Regions from separate parts of the Homo sapiens genome. Here all the other regions are linked to region 2. The links are contacts of gene promoters, found by promoter capture Hi-C in human tissues and cell types (Jung and others, 2019). All regions are on one chromosome and are shown on one strand. The core of a region is centred on a gene start or on the middle of the fragment in contact, and the rest is flanking DNA. Distances in the headings are between cores, read along the strand shown. Region 1 overlaps PCSK1 (proprotein convertase subtilisin/kexin type 1). Region 2 holds the start of ELL2 (elongation factor for RNA polymerase II 2). Region 3 overlaps PCSK1 (proprotein convertase subtilisin/kexin type 1). Region 4 overlaps LOC101929710 (a long non-coding RNA gene).

Region 1 (4,618 bases), core at 515-3,014, 430 kb after region 2:
AGATAGTTTGTTCATTTCTCAACATTTCAGTTAAGGCTCAGTCATACAGCTTTGCATGTTGTCAAGAAAGTGAAGGATGGGCTAGAGAGGAAAATAAAACATACCTTGTTCAGGTAGATTCTTAAATTGACTCCAAGAAAGCCCAATTTCCTAAAAAGGAATTAACTCCTTAATGTAAACTGTCAGCTTTTCTTTTGTATAGTCCATTTGGGAAACACAATAAAAGAGGGAGATCTTGTTTGTGGTGGAAACATGAGCTTTTTTTCTTTTGACTTAGTGAGAAACAATTTATTTTTCTGATTTATAAGCATATTTTACATATTCTGGTCAATACATCAAATGTATAATGTGGAAGTTCCCTTAAGAATACCAAGACCACACATGTTAAACTCAGCTACATGTTGTATTAGGCTATTAGACAAATGTCACTTTTAATATCACAACACATACATGTACTTTTTTTCATTGACAGAGGAACATGCCTTTCAAAAATATTTTATTGGGTGAAACTTTCTTATTCTCAGGAAAACTTTTGGTTCTTTAATATAATTTATTATGCTCTTTAAAATTCTGTTTGATAAAAGCATTGGTATATTATAAATACCTGTAAAGAAAATATAGTTTAAAATTTCAAGGGAAATAGTATATAAGTTTTCTCTTTGACATTTTCACAAAAATCCACACAGGCACTAAGAAAGACTGACAAAACTGTTTTATATCTGAATATTATACTCCAGGTTGGAAACATTCAATATGATTTTATTTAAATATTAAAGCTTCTTGAGAGTGAACCTTTGGCTACAACCCAATGAGTTGGCTGGGGTTTTAACCCAGAAAATATTTTGTTAGGAAGAATCAAAAGAAAGATTTATACATCTAGCACTAGATTGGGAATGGAAAAGTAATGAGTTTTCATTCTAACTCTTTATTGGCCTTTCCGGGCCAATCTAAGAATTCTCTGGTCCTTTTTAGTTTTAATACTTTTTGATATGCTCCAATATTGGAAATTCTATCTAACACTTCATATCAAACAATATATGAAACTTCCAAGGACAGAGTGATTCCGCAAGTCTTTTAGGAGAACATTCTCTAAGCATTACGGGCATTGCTCTGCAAACACCCTCTACACAAATTCAAATGGTAGAAGAGCAGGTGAAAATTTGTGTTACCAACCATACTTCAAGCCAAAGCAAATGACAGACTCTAGTGTTCTTTTCATGAACCAGTTCAATGCCATGAATTACCTTATGAAGTTCAAACTTCATGGAAAAATTGCAAACAGCAAACTCAGTGGGAGAAAGCCAGCATTGTAGGTGACTGGAGACTTTGTAAGCATATTGAGAGAAGGAAGCCAGAAGGTTAGTAATAAATGAATTAGTATTAGTGATCATCCAGGTGAGGTGAGATTACATAAGCAAACTCATAATTATTATTGTACAGATCCTGCCTAACAGAAGATGCGGGTAGTTTGTTTTTCCTAATGCATTTACACTTTGTACACATTCGCTTAGTGTAGGAGTGGGCAAAATCAAATGCCTATTGGATACTGCCCAGCAAGGAATCAAGTGCCTGCTCTAGGTAACATGGAGCAGGGTGCCATGGGGACTGAGAGTCATCTAATCAGGCAGCTGCTACTCAGCTCCAGCTAACTGTTGCCATGAGCAAAGATGGGTCCGAGAATGAGGTTTTATGTGAAACATCATATTTTCAATAACCACTCATATTTTAAAAACATTCTGCATACCAAACAAAATCTACCTGAGGGACAATTAAGGTCCATGGCCTGCCAGTTTCTGCTTCTGATTTGAAGCTTAGGAGCAATTTGGTGAGAATTTGGACACTATCAGTGATAGGATTGGAGAAGAACTTTTAGTATCAAGGAATAAACATTCAGTTTCAAATACTTAGAACACGCTGTTCTAATGAACACAGTTGGAAAAAAACAAAAACAAAACTTCTCTTGGTTTCTCCCTATTATGAGTATTTTTCTATTATTACATTAGGTCTCCATGTGATAAGTGGTTTCCTGTTACTGCTGAAAAAAATTGTGACTAGGAATTTGCCAAGTCCCAAGTGTAAGTTTTTTTTTTTCTGGGAAAGTGGTATATATCATTTCTCCCAACATTTATTTTGTGGCTGAGAAAGGAGACAGGTATAGAAAACTTTCAGAAGGAGAAACAGAGGAAAGACCAGGCATGCAGCACGAGTCATAACCACCTCTGGATCCACGGACGCCTCTGGCACCACAGACACAGTGCACCAGGCAAAGAATGTTCGAAAATTGCTCAAACCAGAGCATTCAGATTTCAAGATCTGTTTCTAGATCTAAATAATCCAGCTTTTGACCAACATGACCAGATTTTGACTACAGGAATGAGTGGCACTTTGGAATAGAAAGATCTAGGGAATGAGTCTTACAGTGAACTCCTTCATTAGGCCTACCAAATACTTTCTTGGCATCAAAATTTGAAGAACCACATGGACAAGACAGGGAACAAGCTACAGAAACAGTTTCTGACTCCTTCTCATTCTTTGCAGATTATGTTTTCAAATTAATTGATATCCCAGGTTTTGCCTTTTCTTTTGAGAATTGAAATGGGCTCTAATGCAGTGTTCTAATGTAGTGTAAGAGCTTTTTGTCAACTGTGACTCCAGAAAGAACAAAACACTTCACTTGTGCAGACAGGAAAGATGTGTTTTGAAATACCTATGATCAATTCTGGAAGTTGAACTTCCTGCTTGAGCTCATCCCCTTCACATGTACAGTTTAGGGAGAAAAAGAAAAGGTGCCACAAAGGATATTATAAGCATAAGAATTCATGACAAAACAACCACTTCAGACACAGGCAAAATCGCAGGGTAAGGAAGAAGCATGAATATTTCCAACTTGGGACCACACACTTATTTTAATTTTCCTCATTCAGAATGTCCACCAGAGCTTGAAGCAGCCGGTCGTCTCTGTGCTTGTAAGGTTTAGTGTTATAAAAAACATCAACATAGTCATTATACAGACTGTCTTCAGAGTCTTTAAGCTGGGAAGGTTTGTTCAGCTTTTCCAGGGCTTCGTAGAAGTTTTCATAAGGGATGTTGAGCTTTGCACTTGGGGACTTCTTTGGTGATTGCTTTGGCGGTGAGTTTTTACTGAAAGCACTTTGCAGGAGTCGCAGCATGGCCTGGGAAGGGGCTCCCTCCTCCAACTCATCCCTCCGGCCCCCTACGCTGCTGCTGCTGGGGCTTTTGGACACCAGGGTGTTCTCCTTAGGGTTCTCTTGTGTGGGCTGCTCCTAAAACATAGAATGCCATCCACAAAGGGAAGAAGGTTCATTATTTATGGCCAGGCAAGCTAGTTGCAACCCTACCACAGGAACGCTGCCTGCCGCTTGAGAGGCAATGAGGGGAGGGGAGAGAGTTCAAGACTGGGAGCCACATGGACTTGGGCTTCAACCCTCATTTGCCTACCCTCTGGGGTACCTTTAACAACCTTTTTAATCTCCCTCAACTTCACCTGTCAGGTGGAATAAGAGTACCTCCATTTGTGGTGGTTTTGAAGACTAGATGAGACTGTATAGGTAAGTACTCAGTACATGGTGGTTTTCTTTACTTGTCAGCCTGCTGTCATGGAATCCATTTTGGGAAGCAGAGGATATCAAAATATCTAACAAGTCATATAGAAGGCACCCACTGGTTGCGGTAGCATGGGTGTGCCTTCCTGGAGGCACTGGCTTTCAGAACTACCCTTTTAGCCACTGAGCTGTAAGAAGTGGTCAGGGGAGAGACTGAGGTGCTAGGCTGGGGAGGAGGGAGCTGGAGAGCTCAGAGAAGCCAACCTTGGCCAACTGCTGTGGAAGTGTTTCAATATTCCAACACTGACAAGGTTAACCTGCTTCCCAGACTGTGAAGAAAAGTACTCAGGACTCAGGTCCTGGAGGGAAGCTGCTTTGAAGAATATAAATGGAACTAGAATTCAAGCTGAGGCCTTCACAGTTCATGTGTAAGTTTCTTGAATATGTACTTTGCCTCTGTATCTTCCAAAACACCCAGCTCAGAGCTGGACCTATTCAGAGCAGGGCGTTCTGAAAATTCTGAAAACCTACCTATTACACCTGAGGCACTGTGCTAGATGCTGGGATACAGAGATAAAGAAAATGTGGGCTTTTCTCACCATCTGATAGAAGGAAGCCAGGAGCCATAGCAGGCTGAAACCCAGGAATGTGAACGACTTATTTTAGCTATCCTCTGAAATTTTTTGAGAAAAAGTGTGATCTATCGCTCCCCTTGGTGTTGCCAAGAAGTGTCAGTTAATGAATTAATAAAAAGAAGCCTACATGATTTGGCCATTTGAGCCTTGTTTTTCTTTCTGCAAAATGGATACACGAATGTCTATCCTTCCTAGGTTATAGGGATTATAGGTTAATGAGACAATGTGGAAAATGCTTAAAAACAAAGTACAGTACAAATGTTAGATATATGTGATTGGGCATAAAGATAACTTTTTTTTCCATTTGTTATCTGTCATAAGTGGAGAAAATTCATGTTAGGAAATTTAATACTTTTGAATTCATTAATTGTGATTTCTAAGTTCTGGATAAAATATTGAATGAAAAAAATACAGTTTTAT
Region 2 (4,480 bases), core at 999-3,498:
GTGCACCTATCTAAGAGTAGCTATTGGCACATGCAGTTTTCTATTTCTTGTATCTCTCCCAGCCATTCTTGAGATTTTCTCTCGAGATTTCACTGTATGTAGGACGGTACCTTTCTCCCTGTGCATGCACTCCTCCCTGACGCCCCCTCACCCCACCACACAAAGTCTGTGAGTCCTTTTCACCATATGCTTCTCTGGTTAGTAACACAAGTGTCCTAGCACGTACATTCATGTGTCCACCCAATTCTGTGAGTACCTTCCTAACAATACACTCACCTCTGAGCCTCCACTGCTGTTTACAAATACCCTATCATGTGAGTTCATTTTCTATCCAAAGCGTGCACAACTAATGCCTTCCTCTGTGTGCACACTTATGGGGTGGGGGGGCTCTCTGAATACACTCCCAGTAAACCAGGGTTCACACCTCTCCTGCCGCTCTGCCTCAGACTCTGCCTTCGCTCTATGTATTTAAAGTGCCTGGCACTAGTGGGAGCTCAACAGATGTCAATTCTTTTCCCCACTTTTAGCTGAATAACTATGTGAATCTGTGTCTCGGTGTCCTTCTGCCCCTCTGTCTGTTGTACGAGACCGGTTGGAGTGTGTTCCTCAGTACCGAACGGGCTATTTGTAAGATGCCCCGTGGGTTCTATCTCCCTTCCGACTCTCTCCTCTCCTGTAAAACGTTACAGGTTCCCCCATATGGCATATCCCTCCCTCACGCGATGTATCCACTCCGGTCTCCCACAGTACTGCATGTCCATAAACTGTTTCCCCATGCACCCTGGTTACCGCGTCCCTTCTCGGTGCTTCCCTGTCTCTCCCATTTTTTTTCCAACATGAAAGCGTCTGGATTTGTAGTCCAATTACAGTGTATGTGCGCCTATCTGAGCCTCTCTCTGTACTGGAGGGGTGTGTGTGTATATGTGTGTGTGTGTGTCCATGGGCTTCTCTCGAAAACGAGGGGTGAGAGGCCCGAGTCTCTGCCCGGGATGCATTGTATCCTCCCCACACCTTCTGGCTCTGGCTCGTTCCCCGTTTACACTTCCCAGAGTCAGCCCAAGACGCCGGGAGCTTTTTCGGGTACGTTGAGCGTCCGTGAACCTCTCTCTCCAGAACCCGATGTCTTGCTCCCGGGGAGCGCTAAGTGTGCGTGAGTCCTCAGGTCTCTCCCCAGGGCACTGTGTTGGTTTGTGTCCGTCCTGGACGCGGCGCGTCTCCAGTAACGCGATGCGCCGGTGTCCCGGAGTCCCTGGGAATGCAGGTGTGTCCCCTCCCCCCCCGTACGCGAAGCGCCAGTGTCCCCGCCGTTCCAGTGTGCGCCGCCCCCTTACACGGACTGCCTAAGTCCCTATCTCTATGAGTACACCGTGTGCCCCTCACCATGCGCCCGAGTCCCCATCCCTTCGAGCACACAGTGTGTCCCCTGATACGTGGAGCGCCTGTGTCCCCAAGTCCCTGGGAATACAAGGTCCCACCCCCACACGCGGAGCGCCTGTGTCCTGTCTCTGAGGATCCACCGTGCCTATGTAACTGGAAAACGCGGGCAGCTGGTGCCCGCGAGTCGTCCCTGGTTCCTTGCCCATACGCTGCTCGCTACCCTCCTTCCCCGCCGAGGGTAGCGTGGTCATCTCACTTCTCTTATCGGGGCCTCTCTCCCTCCTTGGGACCCAACAAGCCAGGAAATCCTCGGGGGCCGTCGGAAAGTCCCGCAGCGGCAGCGCAGCCGACCCAGGGCTGCGGCTGCCTCGGCCCCGCCGCCAGGGGCCGCCCGACTGCCCGCTTCCCCAACGCCCAGGCTAGCCCGGGACCGCGGCGTCAGCCACCCTGCCCGGCCCTGCCCTGCCTGGCCGCTGCGGGCGCTGACGGTAGCAGCTGCCAGCCACGGCTCCGCCGGCCCCGCACCCGGGCGCGGCCAGGCCGTGAGGGGTGCGCTCTGCCTCTCTGAGCCCAGCCTGCCGGCCGGCCCGCTCACCTTGTGGCTCTGGTAAGTCTCGAGCGCCCGGATCGCCGTCTCGGTGAGCTTCACATGCAGTACGGTGATGTTGTCCTGCCCCAGCCGTCCGCACGACAGCCCATAGCGCTGCTCCTCCCGCAGGCCCCCTGTCCCCCCCGCCGCCATCTTAAACTCCCCGGGGTGCCGCCGCCGCCGCCGCTCCGGCTCTAGCCTCCACTGCGGCCGCGGCTGCTTGGGCTTCTGCAGCCGCCGCCACTGCTAGGGCCATCCCGCTGCTGACGTACTGTCATATACTGCGCGGAGCCAGACCTCGGACTGCCACCGCCGCCACCCGCCCCACCCTCCGGCCCCGCGCCCCGCCCCGGGCTCGTCTCATTGGTCTTGTTCCCTTCAGAACCGCCCTCATCGGCCGCCCTCCACTCTCACGGGGGCGGGCCCAAAGTCACTAGAGTTTTGCTCCTGGGACGGGACGTCCGAGAGGTAAGAGGCTGACGTCTAGGTGACGCGCCAACTTAATCATGTCTGACGTCACGTCTGGTCGTCTTGGCTAGCCGGCCGAGATTGGCCAGGCTGGCTTGGGGACTCCCCTGCTAATTGGAAGTCCAGGTTGCCTGGTCTGGTTACCTGGAGTTGGAGCCCCGCCCCTGTGGGGGATAGTAGTGAAAAGTCAGAATTGGGGAATCTCGCCCTACGCGGGTGGTCCTTGGAGAGGAGGATCTCCACCTCCACTATGTAAGGGGATGGCCGTGACCAAATAAGGACTTTGTTCCCCGACGGCTGCGGAAGCTGTGGAACTTGGTGCGTGCGTGTGGGGGAGGACGCAGCAGGAGGACTCGCTAGAGAGCTGCTCCTCAAAACTCCTAGTACTGTAGTTGAGCAAACGGCATTGGGAGGAAACTGCTCACTCTAAACTTGAAGTTATCGGGTGCCACACGCAGAGCTTATAAAAACAAAAACAAAAACAAAAACCCTTGAAATTAGTGAGTCGACTCTTAGATGTAGGAGTTGTGTTAGATCTTGTGGAGCATCTTAAGGACAAAATCACGCGGGAGGTTAAATGCCTTTCGTATGGTGGGCATGGTATAATAGAGAATTGAGCTTCGAGGTCTTTCCTACGCCATGCCCTGTTGTGATTCTCTGGGATCACAACTGGTGGGGATGATATCTCCTTAAAAAGGACTCTAGAAGAAGAGTAAAACTGGCATTGATCTAAATTAAAAGAAACCTCGACAATTCTCATTCTCTAATTCAGTTTGAGTATTGTCCTTTTTATTTGATAGGGCTGTGTGAAAACCTAGCTAGGGTTTAAAGGTAAGAGGCTGTCGAGGTTAAGCGAAGGAGATGGGGGCGTGAGGGGCGTGCAAAGGCCTGGCATACTTTCCATTCCATCCACAGGATGCTTCCTGTGTAGGCGTGGCTAAAAGAGGGAGCCTAATCTGGAGTCCCTTTCAGATTGTGTGTGGATAGACTGACAGATGGGTTCCTGTCAGAGGATGGATTAATTGGTTGATCAGAAACACCAGATAAAACAAACCATTGAAAGCTTTCAAACTGTTGAAAGGCAGTTTAAAAAAGTTCTTTTAATAAAAAAACTGAGACGCTTGTTTTTACCCTCAGCTTATAAAACCATGTTCTGTTCTACTGGGATTCCCCGGGAAAGTTTATAGATATTTAATCAGTATTTTTCATTATTTTAAATGGATTAGGGCCATGATTCCATGTCCTCCCCTCCCAATAAATGCCTTCCCCACCGTACGGGTACACTCCTTTTTGATTCAGACCTTCAAACATAGTAGGTGTATAATGTGAATTACAGAATGAATTGGATTAAGTGGAAACACCTGTATTAAGTGTTACTCCATCACAGGAAAACAGTTTGTAAATTGACTTAATTTCAATCCACTAAGATTGGCTAGCTGTTAAGACGTGATTAACGCTTGCTAATTTCATTTACTTTAGTGATACAGTGTTATCTTAAATTCATGTAGTAGAGATATTAAGGTAATCATCAAATTGGATTAAAAAGTTTACTCTTAGAAGGGAAATAGAGGCTTTACTACCTAGTTTTCTCCGCTTTCCAAAAGTAGAAACCTTATTCAAATAGTTCATCTCTAAGCGGACTATAATCTAAAAATAATTCTGTACTTGAACTTTTCTTTTCTCTCTCTCTTTTTTTTTTTTTTTTTTTGATAGTAAAGGACTGAGCACATAGCTAAAGCCTTAATTATTTGGGAGGTGAGGGGGAAGGGAGGTTTGACCGGAACAAGTAAAACCTGTATCCCACTGCTTTTCCGGTGAATGTGGGTAAATCCCCACCCACATGATATCCTAACTTGGCCTACTCTTACTCAGAATTTCTGATGACATCCAAGCGGGTGGGGGAGGAGTAAGGATGGTTTTCGTTGTAGTTTTCAAATATCTGACCTGTAGCTTCTTACTAGTAATTGACTTTTTTTAAAAATTATAATAGGAAAATTTTTCTCATGCCCTATTTTAGTGGGTAACAAATCTTTCACGGATTAATAT
Region 3 (4,914 bases), core at 22-2,521, 450 kb after region 2:
CAAAAGCCTTCTGGGCTAGCCGGCCAGGCCCCTCCACAGTTTTCCCATCATCATTAGGGCCCCAGCTTGCACTGTAAATATCCACGTGTCCAGGATTGAATCCAATTGAACTGGCCTCAATAGCATCCGTCACAATGCCATCCAGCATTCTTATGCCTGAGAAACAAAATAAACAAAGACACACAAAGGTTGATGTCAGTATGTACATGGACAAAAGCCCAATACTCTTACTATTTGTATTTTTAAAGGATTTTAAGAGTCAAAAACCAGGTAACTACTAGATAGATGTCCCCAATTTCTGTAACCCAGCTACTGACACCACAGAAGGAAGGAACATGTTGCTGCCCCCATAAGCTTTTTTGTCGCACTTTAGAGATAATACTATGCAATACCATGCACTGTGTAGGCAGCTGTGATGTTTTTTTTTTTTTTTTTTTTTTTGGTCCCACTCAAGGCTCTCTTCCCAGCAAAAGCTCTGGGCATTGAGTCTGAAGTGGAGCAGCATCCTTGGATGAGAGGAAGTGGCCGTGATTGTTGTCAATTACAAAATGTTTGCCCTCCCTCCCACCCCAACTAAATGACAGACCAGCTTTCAGAAAGACCCTCCAAGCAGCCCTCTGGTGATGCACCTCCTCATGGCTGTCCCACAAATGGCTGTGGCCCAGTCTACGCCACACAAGGACTCTGGACAGGAAACATGTAGCTTCAAAAGATCTAGTCACAACAGGAAACTAACAAATAGGGAAAGCACTTTTGTTTCTAAGCCCTGATTAAAAATAACCCAGAGGCCATCCTTTCATGTGTTTGCTAAGAAACATTTTCAAGGAACATGCTTCCTATTCTTCTAAATAATCTCAAGGATGAAATCATTGCCATGGATTTCACCCCCAAGGGGAATCATTTTTCATCAGGACAATGTAGGTGCGGTAGCTCTTTGTGCTTTCCAACAGGCTGTCACCCGTCATCAGACTTATGAATTCAAGAGCCAGGAAGGCAAAAACAATCTGGACAGATTACAGGCAGCTACCTGGTTATTTCTGGCTTCAGGCTCATAATACAATAAAGTGCACAGCCTTAGATTTTCACACTTATTTACTATGGAGCAAAGGTAAAATGATATGAAATTGATATGATCAGTGAAAGTTGTATTTGTAAAAAAGAAATTGTTCAAAAATGCATTTAGAGCCAGGCGCAGTGGCTCATGCCTTTAATACCAACACTTTGGGAGGCCGAGGTGGGTGGATCACTTGAGGCCAGGAGTTCAAGACCAGCCTGGCCAACATGGAGAAACCCCATCTTTACTAAAAATACAAAAATTAGTCAGGCATGCTGGCACGCACCTATAATCCCAGCTACTCAGGAGGCTGAGGCACAAGAAATGCTTGAACCTGGGAGGCAGAGGTTGCAGTGAGCTAAGATTGCAACCACTGCACTCCAGCCTGGGCAACAGAGCAAGACTCTGTCTCAAAAAAAAAAAAAAAAAATGCATTTAGAAAAAAAATCGGCCAGGTGCGGTGGCTCACGCCTGTAATCCCAGCACTTTGGGAGGCCGAGGCGGGCGGATCACGAGGTCAAGAGATCGAGACCATCCTGGCTAACATGATGAAACCCTGTCTCCACTAAAAATACAAAAAAAAAAAAAAAAAAAAAAAAAATTAGCCGGGCGTAGTGGCGGGTTCCTGTAGTCCTAGCTACTCAGGAGGCTGAGGCAGGAGAATGGCATGAACCCGGGAGGCGGAGCTTGCAGTGAGCCGAGATCGCGCCACTGCACTCCAGCCTGGGCGACAGAGTGAGACTCTGTCTAAAAAAAAAAAAAAAAAATCCCAGTTCTGCTCTTACCAGCTGTGGAATCTTGGGCAAGCCAGTTAACCCTCTGTGCCTCAGTTTCTTCAACTGTAAAATAGGGATGATAATAACAGCTCATGTGCATTCATGATAGTCTATATGCAGCCACCAATCCACAGGCTTTACATGTATAAACTCATCTAAACCTTACAACCACCATTTGAGGTGGGTGCCGTAATTCTCCTCACTTTATAAATGGAGAGATTGAGGCCAGGAAGGGATAGTGACTTGCTCAAGGCCACATAGCTTGAAACTGGGGAGCCAGAATTTGAACCCTACAAATCTAGCCCCTAAATCTGTTAACCACCAGGATACACTGCCTATAATATTTGTAGAGTAACTGACATACAATAGGTGCCTAATAAATGAAGATTATTGGTAAAAAATGCATTTGGGGCCAGACCATCAAAGGATGGAGTAATGGAAAACATCAGTAGGCTTGGAATCTTGTGTTTCAGTTCTACACTGCCACAAACTTGCTTTCATTACCTTGAGCAGCTTGCTTCTGATTCTTTCTCTACAAAATGAAGGGATCAGATGATTCTTTCACAAACTATAGCTGTTTCGTTCATTATGACTAAAAGAGTGAATTCTTTTACTAGCTAATTACATAATTTGTGCTTCTCCCTTCATTTTTTTTAAAAATTAACAGAACACTTTGAAGATGTTAGTATCAAAGGAATCAGGAATGACACTTAAAATTCTAAGAGTGCCCTATATTCATGAAAGATGCATTACATGTCACGATGTATATTTATTTGGTTTCTAAAAAGAAATGCATAACCAAATGCAAGGTATACTCATGTAGAGTTTAATGGGGTTTTATTGTAATTGAAATGTTCTACAATTGATTCTTTTTGTGATTATGGTTTTTGAAAACCAAACTAAACTTGAAGCTTATAACATAACATGAAAGCCTGAGGTTGGGATAGCATAAAGAGGAGAGACAGTTTTTTCTTTTCTCTTGGCCCCTGCAGATACACTTTCCACTCTTCTCCATTAGAACATGGACTGCATCAATGGGCTCTGTCTTCCCATTGGGTTCAGCCAACTGAAGACACCAGCAAGAGGGTGGGAATCAAGAGGAGAATGAGGTGCCTATACCCCTGAATCCCCTTTGCCTAGAAGTGGCTCTGTTGTTGTACTCAAGGCCTATCCAGTGGCTCTCTCCTGTGACCACAGCTTTCCCTCTCTATTTTCTGCTGACTTCTTCCCTTTGCTCCTTGAGGCTAAAGGTGATAACATCTGCCTACCACTTCTTAGCCCCTTGTTGGTTTTCTCTAATTCTTGTAAATCGTTTCTTTATTAAAATGTCCACAGTTGCCCTAATGCAACTTACCATGTGTTTCCCCATAAGGACACTGATGAAAACAATTAAATCCTACATCCTTGCTATAAAAGATAAAATTTGGCTATTTAATATAATAAGTATGTACTTTTTTTAAATTTTGAAGCTGTTCTTCTCTATAAAGTGAAGAACTTCTACAGAATTGAGAGGCAGGAAAAGTCTTTGCCTAAATTTACCTCCTCCTTCTGTTTCCTTAGCAAGCACTCAATAACAAACCATTCTAAATCAGAACATAGAGAAAATTAGATTTGGTTCAAATGCTATTCAACATTTCCACATTTTTTTTTCCTGCAAAGATGTATAGGCTATATTCAACTATCCATTTTCTAGGAATCCATATCTATTGACTCGCTGGCAAATCATATTCAAGTCCTGTAGCAACTTTGGCATGGAACTAATTTGTTCCTCCAGTTGTTAAAAAGAAAAGCTCCCCTCCCCCATTTACAATGGGTGATGTAAGCTTCACATTAAAATGCCAAGCTATAGGGACAATCCTCTGTTTTACCTCCAACTTTGGAATTGTATGCAACTCCAACCCCGCATTTGTGATTATTTGCTTGCATGGCAATTTCTCCTGCACATCTGGTCCCGTGTCTGAGGATTGAAAAATAAGAATTATAAAACATACAGAAGAACAAACATTTGTTTTGCATATGAATGAATTAATGGGGCATAGGTATATTAACTTTTTGTCGGCCTTGTTACTGTTTTTGTTTGTTTGTTTTAAATTAGTATAACATAAAACTTATGTTCAGATGAAGGGCACAAGTATTAGAGACAAAGTATGTGATTTCAAATTCTGGCTTCTGCCATTCACTAAGGGTGTGACCTTGGGTAAGTTACTTGTCTGCAAAGGCTTGGTCACATGACAAATTATATGTAAAACACTTAGAGCAGTGGATGGCAGATAGTAAGAACACAGTGAGTGTTAACTATTGATACTATTATAAGAACTCTGACATTCAGAAACAATTTCAGAGAAATGGCTTCTGCTTTGTACTTTTTGGTAGCAAAGTGGCTCCTCACTTTTCTCCCTAGTGACTGCCTTGGATTAGATTATCCTTGATCAGCCTTAGTAGGATATCCTAGAACAAGTCCCCTATTAAGCCCTCCTCCTCTCCTCTAAATATATGCCACACTAAAATGTCTGAAGATTATCTGGTACCAAGAGGAGCTTGAGATATTTGCAAGACATTACCAGCTAATTGGAAAGCCAAGATGCTCCTGAAATCCCAACTGGGGCCAGAAGCCTGAACATGATTGGTTTTGCAGTCAAGCAAAGAGGGTAATTTATGATTTCAGAGTATTTGGAAGAAAAATGCGTCTTCCAAACACCAAATTCCACCACTAAAGCATCTATTCTGAAATTCTGAGGATGATAATTGTCTTTTCCCACCACCATCCTGACTCAGGAGGGCCAACAAGCCAAAAGCACATTAATGTGAATTCATTTATTTCGTGATTTTATTCTATTGTGGAAACAACCTGTAAGAGTGTGAAGGCTGTTGGTGGCTTGGAGGAGCCTACCAGATATACCAACATAGAGTGAAAGAGAGGAAGGGTTAGCTCGGAGCAATAATGTTGGCCAGTTACATTTCAATTCTACTATACTGGCCATCTATTAATTCAGCATAGCATGGAATATAAAATTCCTAAATTGACTGGCCATCAAGAAGAATTGTTCAACTTCTCTTTTTCCTGAAGTAGCAAAGATGATTTCC
Region 4 (4,775 bases), core at 2,276-4,775, 410 kb after region 2:
CTGTCGGAAAAGCCCCAGTGAGATGAACCCAGTACCTCAGTTAGAAATGCAGAAATCACCCGTCTTCTGCATCGCTCATGCTGAGAGCTGTAGAGTGGGGCTCTTCCTATTCAGCCATCTTGAAATCGCCCCCTCTAGTACGCTTTTATAACATGTTCCTCATTGTCCTTCTCACCCACTTACATAATTTGATTATATAAGTATCCAACATTTTCATAGTCTAATTATGCAAATGTATTCATAACTGAACCTTATAGTATCCTTTAATTACTTTTCTTTTTTTTCCCCTTTCCTTTCCTTCCCTTCCCTTTCCTTTCTGCTTTTCCTTGGAGTTACTAATTACCAATTTTTAAAAATTGTTTGAATTTCTATAGAATTGGCTGGGCACGATAGCTCACTCCTGTAATACCAGCACTTTGGGTGGCCAATGCGGGTGGATCACCTTAGGTCAGGAGTTCGAGACCAGCCTGGCCAACATGGTGAAACCCCGTCTCTACTAAAAATACAAAAATTAGCCGGGCATGGTGACACATGCCTGTAATCCCAACTACTCAGGAGGCTGAGGCAGGAGAATCCTTTGAACCCAGGAGTTGGAGGTTGCAGTGAGCCAAAATTGCACCATTACACTCTAGCCTGGGGCAACAAGAGTGAAACTCCATCTAAAAAAAAAAAAAAACAAAAAAACCTATAGAATTATTCTCAAACTCCACATGTGTAAATCTCAGACACATTCAGTTCTTCCTCTTGGAGCCTTCTGATTCGCTCCAGTAGGAAGTGGCTGATCTCTCAGCCTGCTGCAGAGCTGTGAGCTTGGTATTTCTGTCCACTATCTCTCTGGGATTCTTGTTTTCTCTCTTAACAAGCTCCTGTTCCTTGGATCCTATGTTTTCTTGAATTGCTCCTTCATATTGAGAGAATATCTATTCTATTACTTTTCTGAAAAGTTTTGCAAAGTAATGTTTTTGAAATCTTGCTTGTCTAAAAATAATTTCCTTCTACCCACACCCTTAATTGGCTAGGTAAGAAATTTAAACCTGGAAAGAATTTCTCTTAGTATTTAGAAAGTGTTACTCCATTTTGTTCCTAAAGCTTGGTATTGCTGTTGCATGAAACCTGTTTTCTCACCCATTTGAAAGTGATCTTTTCTTTGTGGTTAGAATTCTGAAACTTTACAATGATTTCTCAATAATCGCTTCAATTATTTAATGATTATTTCATCCATGCACCCTCAATATTCTATATCTCTTTTTTGGACTTTTACTATTTGGATGTTGACCTTATATTGCGTTTTTATCTATATATTTTATATATTTTTTCTATTTCTGATTTCTCGTATATTTATTTAATTTTCTTTTAAATAAATTTTACTTAGTTCTTGATGGATTATTACATAAATCTCTTTATGAGTTTTTCATTTTTTATTCTCCAAATTAGCTTTTTAATATCTATAAGTATTTCTTCTCTTCTGTCTCTGAAAATATCAAACATTTTTGAAGTTTTCTTCTCCTTGTGAAATCTTTGTTTCTTCTAAGTTACTGTTTTTGCTTGTTGGCTTTGTCTTCTAACCTTCAGATTCATGGCTGAAGTTTAGAAGAAGGTCTGGCAGCCCTTAGCTGCCTCTTGGTATTTAACTATGGAGGACCAAAAAGCTTTCTCAGAAGCTGTGTGGCAAAAATTCACTCTGACGTGATCTGGCTGGTTGTTTTGTTAAATGAAAGCCAAAGGTAATTCCTTTAGATCTTTTCTCTTGGGAAGATGATCGTAGAAGAATATGAGAAGACCTTTTAATCTCCTTTCTGATATTTAATTACACAGCTGCCAAAAATCTGAAATCCAAGTAAGGAAATGTGGCTGAGAGTCTCAACATTCAGTAGGTACATTTTACTCAATTCTCCTTGTTTTAGTATGCCACTCCTCCCCTCAAGTGACTCTTTGTCTCTTTATTCCGTTTTATTTTCCTTCTAAGCTCTCTTCACTGCATGACCCACTATATTTTCATCTCTTAGTCTATTTTTGTCTTCAATTAGAATGTAAAGTCAATAATAACAAGTTTTATTTTTCTTCACTGTTGTATCCCCAATGTCTGACAGCTATGCTTTGCACATAGTAGCTGCTCAATAAAAATGTATGTCATGACTTAGGTTAAATAATATGAAATTTCTGCTATTCATCTGGTTTTGAACTTCAAAATGGAAATCTCTTACATTTCAAACTGAATAAAAGAGGATCTGAATGGCTAAGGATTATCACCATTTTCCTTGTGATATGAAACTCATTATAGGAGGTATTAATATATTTTATAGTTTATTATATATAATTAATTTAAAAAATAGTAAATGGAGAAATACAAACTCAGAGAAGTTAAATGTCTTGCTGACTTGCCTAAGATTACACAATATTAGGCAGTACTGTAGTAGAACCAGGACCAGAATTTTGTATGTACCAGGCACTGTTAGAGATTCTGGGGATGAAACAGCGACTGTAATAGACTTCTGGGTATTTCTAGGAGTAAGAGAGACAAAAAAGAAGCAAGCAGCTGTAACAGGGTAGTGAATGAAATTGTTCTTACTTTCTTGAAACTTTAAGCGTCCCAAACTGAGGACAATATGCAATATGGAACCTCATAAACTAAAGAGCAACATGGAGCTGCCAAACACCCCTTCAGGGCCAGACTGGTTCTTTAATTTTCACCCCCCACAACTGCATCCAACCTGTATACACAGAAAACTGAAATTCACAGGCATAGCAGCACTGATTCACAGTAAGGGGTAGGCCTGGAAGTCAACAGTACTGTTGCTTTATTCCAGCTCTCTTCATATTCACGGTAGGGATAGGAAGAGTTTGGATTGTAAGTGCCTAGCCTGCCTGCTTGGACTACACTGTGCAACTGTTGCTTCAGAGAGACCTGATGTGGTGGAATTATGAGAAAACATGTAAAGCAAATCCACAAGCAAAACAATAGAAGAAAGCACATCTAATTCCTATTTTGCCCGTAGAGAAACTGTGAGTAAACTTGAGGTGCTGTCTTAGGGATTCACCTGTTTATGATATAACTCAAATTGGAGAGCTCCCCAACTATGTAGACCTAAATGAAGCCAAGTTAATGTCCACAATACACTCATTCACACTTCCAATTCCGGGTACCTATCTTTACATTTAAAGGAAATGAAGAACATCCGTTAGCAGATGGTAGTCTACATAAGGGCCCATGAAATACACCTGTGTCTTGCAGACCCCAGTTACAAAGGAAACAGCTGTTGACCTGGACCAGCATTTGTTAGTTTTCCATTAGCTCATAGTGTTCACTAGGCCATCTGTAGCATGGAACTAAGTAAATGGAGTCACTTTTCTATGGTTGGCTCATTTCCATAGCTCATTATGTAGGAAGGCTGATAAAGCATTATTGTGCCAAAGCATTAAAAAACTCAAGTTCTGGAAAAGTTTCCAGAAAGGTCATCATTAACAGGGCTAGTCAATAAGCTCCCCACCTCATGTAGATGCTGTACTAATCCTGTGATAGCCCATGGGGGAGGAGACCTCTACTTGAATCGCTGTCAACTGTTGATGAGGAATGGGGCAGAGGCTTAGCATATTCACATTTATTTTCTGATAGCACACTTCCTGCCCTCTCTACCTTTCTTCCTTTCTTCTTCCAGAAACATTTATTGTCACTGACATGGAGATGAAGTATTTTGAACGCTCAAGGTGCAAAATTAAACTTTCCTTTCATTATCTTCTATTAGGAGGCTCTCTGTCTCTTTCACTCACTGGACTGTAAATCACAGGAAAGAAGGAACCATTCTGGGTGTTGGGTTCTTGTTACCTATCATACCATCTGGCACATAGTAGGTGTTCAATAAATACCCATTGGTTGAAAGTATGAAAAAGGAATTTTGATCATGAGCCTAGACAACCAGTCTATACTGGTCTTTAAAAGCACTCCAGATTTACAGGCTGAAAATGGGATTAAAAATCCAAAGACAAACAGAAGAAAAAAACCTTAAACACAGCAGGATTTATGACCATTACAGAGCTAAAAGTACATTATATTCTAATACTAAGGCAGTATACCAGGCTGCCTTTGTTATCATTCATATAAACTCCTCTAGCTCACTTTCTGATTTTTCCTTCCAATAATTTGCCCTTGATTAACTTTGTTTTTTTAAACTAACATTTATTAAGTACCAATATTGTGCAGAAATGCTGTGCATTTGTTTTCTCCTGTAAATTACATGAAGCAACGTTCACCCCAATTTTGGAAATGGGAAAAATTGAAGCTCTCAGAGTTTAAGTAAGTTCTCACAGGTAGTAAATAGAATGGCTAGGATTGGAACCCAGGTTTATGGGCTGCTACAACACAGTTTGTTAAATATCAGGTGGCTCCTTCAGTGTTCCTTGCTATATACCTCACCCTTTTAAATTCCATTTTGGAAAAAATTCCTGAGAACTCTGTTCTTCAGTCCTTTATTTGTTTTTCTTTTGCCCATGAATCTGATTACATATAAGTTATACCCATGACCTTCAGTATTTTGCCAGACCTTGGCCAGGGGTGGCTCTTCTAGCCAATGGATATCATCATGGTGGTTGCCCTCGGAAGACATGAGAACCTGCAGGAGGAGGACTTTGGAAATTTGGAACCCATTGGCCCAGGGAAAGAGCTGAATATTTCTAGGGAGGCCAGACCCACCAGGGACTGCTGCATTGGTCATAAATGTAATACCATGGGACTTAGGCAGAGAACAAGCAAGCCTGATCCCAGAGTTGAGGAATAGCCA

What was found. The method cuts DNA at HindIII sites, captures the fragments that hold promoters and counts their contacts. A contact is called where the count stands out against the background at its distance.
Region 1: a contact is called between a fragment that was not itself captured here and the fragment with the promoter of ELL2 in region 2, in 1 of the 25 tissues and cell types used here (thymus).
Region 3: a contact is called between a fragment that was not itself captured here and the fragment with the promoter of ELL2 in region 2, in 1 of the 25 tissues and cell types used here (dorsolateral prefrontal cortex).
Region 4: a fragment that was not itself captured here is called in contact with the fragment with the promoter of ELL2 in region 2 in 3 of the 25 tissues and cell types used here (bladder, liver and spleen).

The regions. Positions count from the first base shown.
Region 1 is chr5:96,390,095-96,394,712 of GRCh38, forward strand. PCSK1 (proprotein convertase subtilisin/kexin type 1) reads right to left here. Exons shown (of 14, transcript NM_000439.5): 14 at 239-3,284. The coding sequence ends at 2,907. The region is part of intron 4 of LOC101929710 (a long non-coding RNA gene); the gene reads left to right. It also overlaps a transcript of CAST not described here. Among named protein-coding and RNA genes, the nearest start is that of PCSK1, 41 kb to the right of the region's middle. The HindIII fragment of the contact is 5,490 bases long and covers 1-4,509 here.
Region 2 is chr5:95,959,603-95,964,082 of GRCh38, forward strand. ELL2 (elongation factor for RNA polymerase II 2) reads right to left here and starts at 2,249. Exons shown (of 12, transcript NM_012081.6): 1 at 1,973-2,249. The coding sequence starts at 2,119. LOC101929710 (a long non-coding RNA gene) reads left to right here and starts at 2,399. Exons shown (of 5, transcript NR_130776.1): 1 at 2,399-2,434. It also overlaps a transcript of CAST not described here. RefSeq lists silencers at 1,663-2,072, 2,143-2,382, 2,338-2,805 and an enhancer at 2,101-2,858. The HindIII fragment of the contact is 6,597 bases long and covers 1-4,480 here.
Region 3 is chr5:96,412,335-96,417,248 of GRCh38, forward strand. It overlaps PCSK1 (proprotein convertase subtilisin/kexin type 1), which reads right to left. Exons shown (of 14, transcript NM_000439.5): 6 at 3,699-3,787; 7 at 1-156. The region is part of intron 4 of LOC101929710 (a long non-coding RNA gene); the gene reads left to right. It also overlaps a transcript of CAST not described here. Among named protein-coding and RNA genes, the nearest start is that of PCSK1, 18 kb to the right of the region's middle. The HindIII fragment of the contact is 3,852 bases long and covers 1-3,197 here.
Region 4 is chr5:96,367,840-96,372,614 of GRCh38, forward strand. All of the region lies in intron 3 of LOC101929710 (a long non-coding RNA gene), which reads left to right. It also overlaps a transcript of CAST not described here. Among named protein-coding and RNA genes, the nearest start is that of PCSK1, 63 kb to the right of the region's middle. The HindIII fragment of the contact is 8,912 bases long and covers 1-4,775 here.